Regions from separate parts of the Homo sapiens genome. Here region 1 is linked to region 2. The links are contacts of gene promoters, found by promoter capture Hi-C in blood cells and fetal thymus (Javierre and others, 2016). All regions are on one chromosome and are shown on one strand. The core of a region is centred on a gene start or on the middle of the fragment in contact, and the rest is flanking DNA. Distances in the headings are between cores, read along the strand shown.

Evidence for each region. Contacts are between HindIII fragments. The CHiCAGO score rates a contact against its expected background, and 5 or more counts as called.
Region 1: a contact is called between the fragment with the promoter of SPINT4 here and the fragment with the promoter of SEMG1 in region 2, in 6 of 17 cell types (M1 macrophages, endothelial precursors, M2 macrophages and 3 more). The highest score is 7.3, in M1 macrophages.

Annotation. Positions count from the first base shown.
Region 1 is chr20:45,720,166-45,725,091 of GRCh38, reverse strand. SPINT4 (serine peptidase inhibitor, Kunitz type 4) reads right to left here and starts at 2,745. Exons shown (of 3, transcript NM_178455.3): 1 at 2,610-2,745; 2 at 1,035-1,212. The coding sequence starts at 2,724. The HindIII fragment of the contact is 5,556 bases long and covers 1,084-4,926 here.
Region 2 is chr20:45,204,696-45,209,814 of GRCh38, reverse strand. SEMG1 (semenogelin 1) reads right to left here and starts at 2,782. Exons shown (of 3, transcript NM_003007.5): 1 at 2,686-2,782; 2 at 1,085-2,441; 3 at 47-214. The coding sequence starts at 2,761. The coding sequence ends at 1,129. The HindIII fragment of the contact is 3,637 bases long and covers 2,555-5,119 here.

The DNA of each region.
Region 1 (4,926 bases), core at 1,496-3,995, 520 kb before region 2:
TGGTTACTTGTACTGTACTTGGTTTCTTCATCTGTCACATAAAAATAATGATATATATCTATTGATATATATATATATATATATATATATATATATTTTTTTTTTTTTTTTTGAGATGGAGTCTCACTTTGTCTCCCAGGCTGGAGTGCAGTGGCATGATCTTGGCTCACTGCAAGCTCCGCCTCCCGGGTTCACACCATTCTCCTGCCTCAGCCTCCCGAGTAGCTGGGACTACAGGCGCCTGCCACCACGCCTGGCAAATTTTTTGTATATTTGGTAGAGACGGGGTTTCACTGTGTTAGCCAGGATGGTCTCGATCTCCTGACCTTGTGATCCGCCCACCTCGGCCTCTCAAAGTACTGGGATTACAGGCGTGAGCCACCACGCCTGGCCCTACCTTGATATAATTTTAAATTATATCAATATATGTTAATTGCTTAGTGCAGTGCCTGACACACAGTAATTGTCCAATAGATGGTGGCTATTATTTTCTCTCTGGGCATTTGATTTCCTAACTGCAAAATGAGCAAATGATCCTGACAGCCCACCCAAATGTGGTTTTTTTTTTTTTTTTTTTTTAGATGGAGTTTTGCTCTTATTGCCCAGGCTGGAGTGCAATGGATGGCGCGATCTCGGCTCGCCGCAACCTCTGAACCCTCTGAACTTCTTGAACCCTCCCGGGTTCAAGTGATTCTCCTGCCTCAGCCTCCCGAGTAGCTGGGATTACAGGCATGCGACACTATGCCTGGCTAATTTTGTATTTTTAGTAAAGATGGGGTTTCTCCATGTTGGTCAGGCTGGTCTTGAACTCCTGACCTCAGGTGATACACCCACCTCAGCCTCCCAAAGTGCTGGGGTTACAGGCATGAGCCACTGCGCCCGGCCAACCCAACTGTTAAAACTTCTTATTTGAGCAATCCTCCCTCTTCCCACTCCAAGCAAGGTTAGCCCCTGATCAATTTTCTCTATCTTAGGATGTCAAAACCTCTTCTTTTACTACCCCCAAGGACCAAGGACAGGATTAGATTCCTTACGGTGGTTTGTATTTTGCAACACAGGCTACTTCACGTTCTATTTTAAGCTTGAAGTTGTTAAGGTTGCCATTACAGCCGGAGAAGACAAAAGTTTCACATCTTTTGGAGGTTCTGTTGTAGAAATATCTAAAGTGAACTTCATAGCAGCTTCCAAAATTCATGTCCAATTTGCAGGGATCTGCATGAGAGGTTCCCATTGAGTTAGTGGGAATTGGTAAGGACTCAGCAGGAGAACTTGTCTTTATGGGCCCTTAAAAATTCCTACGTTTAGCCTGGAACTATTCTCATATTCAAGGACTCTGAAAGATGTGGTTTTCTCTTGGAGTTAGAGTTGCTTGGAAATGTTGCCCTTGCACAATGCAAATTGGTTAAAATTCCAGGTTGTTGTCGTGAGCAGTGTATTGGAGAAGGAGAAGTAGTGATCAGTGAAAAAGGAGGTTCCACCACTAGCTTGTGCAGGGCGATGAGCTTCCCTACATTTCCTATCTTACAGTTTATTAAAGTACAGTATCCTCCTGCTTCCCCACATCATCTTCCTTTCCTTTTAATTGCCCACATAGGACATGCAATTCAGAGTGCCTCCTCCCCAGTTTCATACATTCACTATACTACCTATACTTCAAAATTTAAGTAACCATGGCTGCTGCTATCTTTAAAGCAGGATGCATACTAAAATGCTAAAATGCATAACCTTGGGGTGATGCTCGTTCATCCTCATACCCCGTCATCTTCTCCTTTCTTGCCTTCTCAGAGGCAAACCCTCTGTTTTTATTGTTAAGAGTTGGGTAGTAAGTGGTTGGAACAGCCACAATCATGGTTGTATTGACAATCCACCTTACTCAAGCAGCCAGCCTGGAATTTACTCTCTGGTAAAGTTATGTGCATAATCTTATTTCATACTCACAAACACCCTCTGCAGCAGGCACTTTTCTGATCTTCATTTTACACATGGGGAAACTGAGACTAAGAGAATAATAAGTGGTTGAGTGACTTGTCCAAGGGCACATATCTGCTAAGTGAACAGGTCCAGAACTTGAAGTGTCTGACTTACGGTATAAACTGTGCTACTTTCTCGTCCCCTGGAAGCGCTGAGCCTTCACACACTATCTATGGAAGAAAGTCTCATTGCCTCTCACATTTACATTGTGAGCTCCTCTAAACAGGAATCATCTGTCCAAGAGTTCTGTATATGTCCATAGCCCAGATACTGAAAATGTCTTAATTTGCTCTGTCTCCAACCCCCTTTCTCTCTCATCCCAATACATAATCATCAATGGTCTGGGATCTTTGAAATTTGTCACACAACCTCTGATTCAAAATACTTCCAGTCCTTTGGACCTCCTATAAAAGAGGTCTCCATCTGGAAAGGACTTTGTGTCATTTCTGTTTTTTCTCATCAAACATCCAGAGGACCCCTAGTGTAAGTAATGCCCTGAGTCAAGGGACTAAGTGTCTATGGGTATTGTCATGAAAGGAAGACCTTCCTGGACTACCTAGATAACACACTTTTCTCCCAATACCTTCTCTCTCATTCATAATTGACCTTTGGATTTATTTTCTGCCTTAGCTTCATACCTTTGAGGTCTCCACATATCTTCTCCGCAATTTTATTAACACCACCCAATAACAGGGTATTCAATGAGCAGAAGATGAAGAATCTTAGAAGAAATCCCAGCTTGGCAGACTTCATGGTGCAGCAAGCAGCAGGCAGGATAGTTGTGGTATCACCTGATGTTATATTTTGGGCTTGATACTTGAGACGGTTGAGCTCACCTACCCCAAGGGCCAGGACTGGACATTACTAGGTGTTGAGTTGAACAGTGAGTGCTTGGGTACCCAGCCATGAAGCTGAAGGCCCCAAACTGATTAGACCCTTGATAGTGAGTCCCATGTTCATCTAGAAGCAATAGAAACTTAAGGATCAGAGCTTCTGCATATATTTAATCATGAAGGGTAGAATCATCAGAGTGAGGAATTAAAAAGGGATTTCTTCCTTTCTCTTTTTGACCTTTTATGCACAGAAGAAACTAATCATGGCACAAGAGAAAGAGTGCAATAGCACTATAATAATAGTAACAGGGTTAGTTATAACCTAGAGTACTACTTAATTCCAGGTGCTATTTTTAAGTAATTTGTATATACTTTATCATCATATACACCCTATGAAGTAAGTACAGTTATTACCATCATTTAAGGATGAAATGGAGACAGAGATTAGGTTACATGTACAAGGTCACTCATTTATTATGTGGTAGAGACAAGATTTGAACTTGGCTTCAGAGTTTTTGTTCTTAGTCACACTACACTATGTTATCTAGGAACATGAGGACATCTTGGATCTGTTTTCTCCTAAAAGTTTTGAAGTTTTGGCTTACCTTTACACCCTAAAACCACCTGATGTTGATTTTTTGGTAAGGTATAACATAAGGATCCTTTTTCATTTTTCAGTGGTTCCAGACCTATTTATTAATGAGTTCCTCTTCTATTTAACTGCAAAATAATTTTGCTTAATTATGTGGGATTGCTTCTGAGCCCTTTATTTCACTCCACTGTATACCCCCACTCCAAAGCCACACTTAATCTCTTGAACTTTGTTTATCTTAGGATTTTGTATTTTCATATAAATTTTAGTCAGTTTATCAAGTTATTCAAAAGACCTGTTTCGGGCCAGGCGTGGTGGCTCATGCCTGTAATCCCAGCACTTTGGGAGGCTGAGGTGGGTGAATCCCATGAGGTCAGGAGTTGGAGACCAGCCTGGTCAACATGGCAAAACCCCGTCTCTACTAAAAATACAAAAATTAGCTGGTTATGGTGGTGAGTTCCTGTAATCTCAGCTACTTGGGAGGCTGCGGCATGAGAATTGCTTGAACTGGGAGGCAGAGGTTGTAGTGAGCTGAGACTGTGCCATTGCACTCCAGCCTGGGTGACAGAGCAAGACTCTGACCGAAAACGAAAACAAAAACAAAAACAAAAACAAAACACCTATTTTGGATATTCATTTGAATTGCACTGGATCTACAAATCAATTGGAAAAGAATGATATCCTTATAATATTGTCTTTGATATATATATTTCCATCTATTTTGACCTTCATTAATATTTTAAAGAAAGGTTTATGACATTTCTCATGCAGGTGTTACAATCTTATTTATATTTTTAATATTATTGTAAATGCTATCTTTTAAAAAAATCTTCAACTTTTATTTTAATTTCAGCGGTACATGTGCAGGATGTGCAGGTTTGTTACATACATAAACCATGTGTGCCATGGTGATTTGCTGCACAGATCATCCCTACACCTAGGTATTAAGCCCAGCATTCACCAGGTATTCTTCTTGATGTTCTCCCTCTCCCTACCACCCCCATGATATGCTCCAGTGTGTGTTGTTCCACTTATGTGTCCATGTGTTCTCATCATTCAGCTACCACTTGTAAGTGAGAACATGCAGTGTTTGGTTTTCTGCTCCTGTGTTAGTTTGCTGAGGATAACTGCTTCGAGCTCCATCCATATCCCTGCAAAGGACATGATCTCATTTCTTTTTATGGCTGCATAGAATTCCATGGTGTGTGTGTGTATATATATATATTTCAGTATCACATTTTCTTTATCCAGTCTATCATTGATGGGCATTTGGATTGATTCATGTCTTTGCTATTGTGAATAGTGCTGCAATGAACATATGCATGCATGTGTCTTTATAATAGAATGATTTATGTTCCTTTGGGTATATACCCAGTAATGGGATTATTGGGTCAGATGGTATTTCTGCCTCTAGATCTTTGAGGAATCTCCACACTGTTTTCCACAATAGTTGAACTAATTTACACGCCCACTAACAGTGTAAAAGTGTTCCTTTTTCTCTACAACCTCTCCAGCATCTGTGTTTTTTGT
Region 2 (5,119 bases), core at 1,533-4,032:
CCCTTGAGCCACTAGGAATCCAGAGAAAACAGGAGTCAAAAGCAGATGAAGCAGAAAATGATCTCTTTATTGGAAGTTTGAAGGCGCTTCAGGTTAGGAAAGCCTAATTCAAGGAAGCATGGGCAGGTGGTGTCATCCATGGACCAAGAATCTGAAACTACACGGGAGTCTGCATCTCAGAAACATCACAGAATTCACTGAGGTCAACTGACACCTAGAGAGAAAGAAGAGAATCAGTGATGTGAGTATAGTAAAAAGTGAAGGGTGGGGATGGTAGCTGGGCCCCCTGTCCCCTTCAGCTCCAACTGTACCAGCCCTCTACTACTAGGATACCAGGCCACTAGTTGCCAGCTGGGGCCACTGTTTCTACTGCTTGCCCTCTCTTCAAGTGCAGTGTTACTTACTGCAAAGAGGCAGGGAAGCACCATTACCCCTCTCAGGGCTTCAGTTTTCTTCTCCTGATGTTGTAAACACCCAATTGGCCCATGAGATCCCTCACCATCTCTTGTGTCTCCCTTTCCATCTTCTCTTTCACAACATGAACAAGGATCTTTCTACATATCTCTTTCCTGTATTCTGAGAGGGAGGACTGATAGTCTTTGGGCTTGTGGTCTCTGAAGGAGCATAGATGAACCCTAACAGGGATGCAAGAACATTCACTGGTGTGCAGAAAGAAAACATTAATGGCTGTAATCCTTTATACTATATAGGAAAGAAACTGAGGTTTACTAATCTAAAGTATAAGAACTGACAAGAGTATACCATAAACTTATAAATATGCATATGTAGTCAGTACCTGTTCAAAAAAACCTTTAGCAGGTAGGCATATACAAAAAAATATTATTGAAGAATATTCAATTAAGGATAGGAATTCTAGGACCTCATGATAGGCCAAACATCCTTCTGTGCCACTACCAGACCCTCTCCTCACCAGGGAATGGGGAGGCTCATCTTCCTACCACTTGTTATACAGCACTTCTATTGGTGCGAACAATGGTTATCAATCCCACAAAAGTCCTGGAGAGTCCCCAACAATTCTAAACAATGAGAGAGATATCTCCCCTATTTGCTAAAAAAAAATTACCTTGATATTGGTCCATCCTTTCACATGGTTACCGAATGGTAGGTTTATGTAAATAATGGGTTTCGGTCGTTGTTAAGATGTTGTGCCAAATGACGATCACTGTCATCTTCCTGCTCTATAATTACAATATCCAATCCCCCATGAGATCCATGTTGGTGTCTGCCTTTTTGTTCATGACTGAGTAGGTCTTGTTCTCTATTTGTAGATTGGCCAGACTCTCCTTTTGCATTTTCACCATGCCATGGCTCTTGCTTAGGATTTGGTGCCTGGATTTGAGACTTGCCTGCTACTAGCTTTTCAGTTTGGCTATAAATACTGCGTTGGGATACATCTTTCTGCACACCATTTTCTCCATAGTGGAGTCGTCTTTCTTCCGTACTTGAAGATTGGTATGATATTTTATTTGCCTTTTGGCTATGCTCTTGCTCTTGACTGGGAATTGTTATCTGTTTTTGAGACTTGCCCTGTGCTTTCTCTTCAGTTTGGCTATAAATACTGCTTTGGGATACATCTTTCTGCACACCATTTTCTCCATAGTGGAGTCGTCTTTCTTCTGTACTTGAAGATTGGTATGATATTTTATTTGCCTTTCGGCCATGCTGTTGATCTTGATTGAGATTTTTTGTCTGGTGTTGATTCTTGTTATATACTAGGAGCTCATCTTGGGTAGAAAAAATGTCTTTGGATCCATGTTGGAGTTTGTCTTGGTGCGCAGGACAGAGTGAGGTTTGTACTTTACTTGAATGTTCCTCTCTCACTTCAACCACATTTTGGTAATGCCCTTTATTTTGATGAGAATTTTTAGTCTCACGTTGTTGTTTGTTAGCTACTAGCTCTTCAGTTTGGAGAACATAACTGCTTTGGGATCCGCCTTGTTTTCTACCTTTTTGTGCACCAGAGACGGAAGTTTGTTCTTTACTTAGTCCATGAACCCACAGCCTTTCTTCTGTGTTTGAATATTGACTGGATATTCCCTTTCCAGATGGGCTATTCCCCTGATCTTGAGAAGGATTTTGTGTCCCACGATGAGCTTTGCCTCCTTTATGGTGTATAACTACCCTGTGAAAATGACCTTTTGATTTATCATGGTCTCTGCCTTCTTGTTTATTATGGAGCAGTTGTTGACTTCCACCTAGATGTCGTTGTGATTTTGTCGTCTTATGTAGGGCATTCAAATCATATTGCTGACTTTTTCGGGACTGGTCATGATCATTGGCATCTACATGATATGTGTATTGAATAGAAAAACTGCCTTTGGATTCAGTTTGTTGCTTGCCTTTTTGTCCAGAATAGTGCTGGCCCTTTTGTCCGTGTGGAAATTGGGAAAATTCACTTGGTAATCGGCCTTTTGATCCACCTGGTAATTGATAATAAGAAGGTATGCATTCATTATCTCCAAAGCTCCCTTACAACTCTTACCCCCCACTTTTCCCCCAACAAATTATTGATATTTCTAGAAAAGCTGAAGCTTTGGGTGGAGAAAATCAATTCTCTTCAAAGAGAAGAATCTGTGCCTAAACAGGTTACTGTTTGCACCCCAAATAATCTTAGATTATTAGCTGTCTGAGCAGCTTTCCCCAAGGCTTACCCTCTCCACTCACCTTTTTGTCCCATCACAGCTGCTTGCTTCTCCAAGATGAGGAGCAGGGAAAGTACAAAGATGATGTTGGGCTTCATCTTGCTTGGAAAACCTTGTCTGAGAGCTGAGCCGACCTTGTCATTTATATCTTCCTTGAGTGAGTGTGCCATGGGTGGAGCTTAAATTACAAAAGGCACTGACTTTTCTTAGCTTATCAGTAAATGCCAACTTCCTCACCCCTGCTGAGTGTGGGACAAAGTCAATGTCCCCAGCAACATAATGTCAAAGGCATTTTCTTTCTTCTGGCAGCCCCAGCAAATTTTTATCAGTCCTTTTAGATCATCATGCCAGATCACTTTAATTTTACAGAATTATAGACAAAAGTAGGAAAGAGACTGGCTTCAGGCTACAAAAGCAATTGGTTTCTGAGAATGCCTTTATATTCTAAATGTGAGTTTCCCTTCATGATGCAATAATTTAAATACTCTATTTTAGATAGAACTCCATACTTCCTTTTGTTTTAAAAATGATCTTGAGACACGTTCTATTTTACCTAAGAATGAGCAATCATAGAAGTCCAATGATATAGAAGATAATGAAACGTTATGGAATCCAAAGAAAGAAATTTTAAACAAGTAAATGGGGCACTCCAATGTCAAATATGTCTGTCAAGTTCAACACAATAAAGACTGACATGTATCCAAAGTTTTTCTTAGTTGTTGCTAGTAACTTTAATGAGAGATGAATACAATTGCATTGGGTTGTCAGTTGAAGGATGGAGACCAGCTGCAACCTTCTCAGGAAGTCTGAATTCATGGTGGAGTGAGAGCTGAGGCTGTATCTGGAGGGTGAGGTAAGTTCCAGATGTGTTTTCAAAGGATGAAAGAATTTTAATATGCTTTCATGGTGATAGGAACAACTGTTGGAAAAAAAGTAAAAATGCTGGTTTCTAGATTGGGTTCTTTTCATGAAATCTACCTAAACAGCAGAATTTTCTTTTTAATTAAGAGAAGTTTCTACTTCAGTAGTAAACAGCTGAATCCCCAAACAGGCTGTGAGAAATATTTGCCACCATCAATGAATTGAATAATGTATTGTGAGTGGACATGAAGCTAAAATTCCCACCTTTGGTAGAAGCATAGATTTTTCCAATTGTGATGACATCCTGAAAAGTCTGAAGAAACTTTCTTTACTTTGAGTCATAAAGACTTCGTTATGAGCAGACCACAGGAGAAGAAGAAAGCATCCCAACAGTGTCCCTGTGTACATTCAGAACACCTTGGAGGGTAGTGCTGGGGAAAGGATAGCTTGAAAACTTATTTTCAATTATTCTGTCTTAGAATCTTAACCTTCCTGTAGGCAATGCTCTATGGAAGGGGAAAAGAGAAAGGCCAACCACAGAAAAAAAGTGCTATGCTATCAAACATAAATCATGTGAGCTGCATGGTTTCTCTATGAGCCACTCTGAGATCTTACCAAATTTATCTGTTTGCCTCAAAGGCAGTAAGTAGTTCCTTATTGCAGAAACCCCAACAGAGTAAGGTGATATTGTTCTGAACTAAAATTGATTACTGTGTCTGCTAACCACTGTAATCTTCCTCACACTTCCCTTAAGAAAATACCAGAAACTGTTCTGTTCCAAACTTACTGATACAAAATAGAGTCTGAAATATTAATCTTACTTATGGATCAAGAACAAAACTTTCATCTCATCTAGTGTCCAAAAGATGCAGATAAAACAAAAGGGCACAATATTTGCAAAAACAAACCAGGAAAATGCAATCCAAGCAAAACATGTGATTACTATATTCATATTAGAATTGAATTCAATGAAATGTGGAAAAAAACATTTCCAAATGATAAAGGAATGTATTGATAAAGTTGAAATCAGAAATCAGTGATTTGGAAAGCATAAAAATGGTATGGTGATGCATACATCTTAGATATGGAATTATGATGGGGGAAAAGATTAAGTGATCAAATGATTTGTCCTGTTGGACAAATAAAAAATGCAAAAATATTAAAGTGCACTAAATTGGCACAAAAATCTGAAAGTTTTATACTCATAGGAAAAGAAGAAAACAGGAGGACTTAAATGTATTTTGCTCAATTCTATGGGAAATCACTTTACAACTTAGAAAAGATTCAAATATAGTTATTTTTGGGGAATGGGCAGAAAAACCTGGTAGAGTAGGACTCCCCAGAGATTATACCCTCCAAAACGTCGAATTTAATAATTATCCACATATGATAATAGTTTCTCAAAAGCTAAACAGGCCAGATGAGATATTACAGAACCTGATTATAGTATAATAATTAAAAATACACATTGAAGAGGGCACGAAAGACAATTTTGTTTCCTGTATCACCCCTAACCCAATCACAGGCAGCACAGTGCAGAGAGAGCTACTTTCTTTTGGGGGGAAGGGAATGAAGTAAGGCTTGGACTTTTTCAC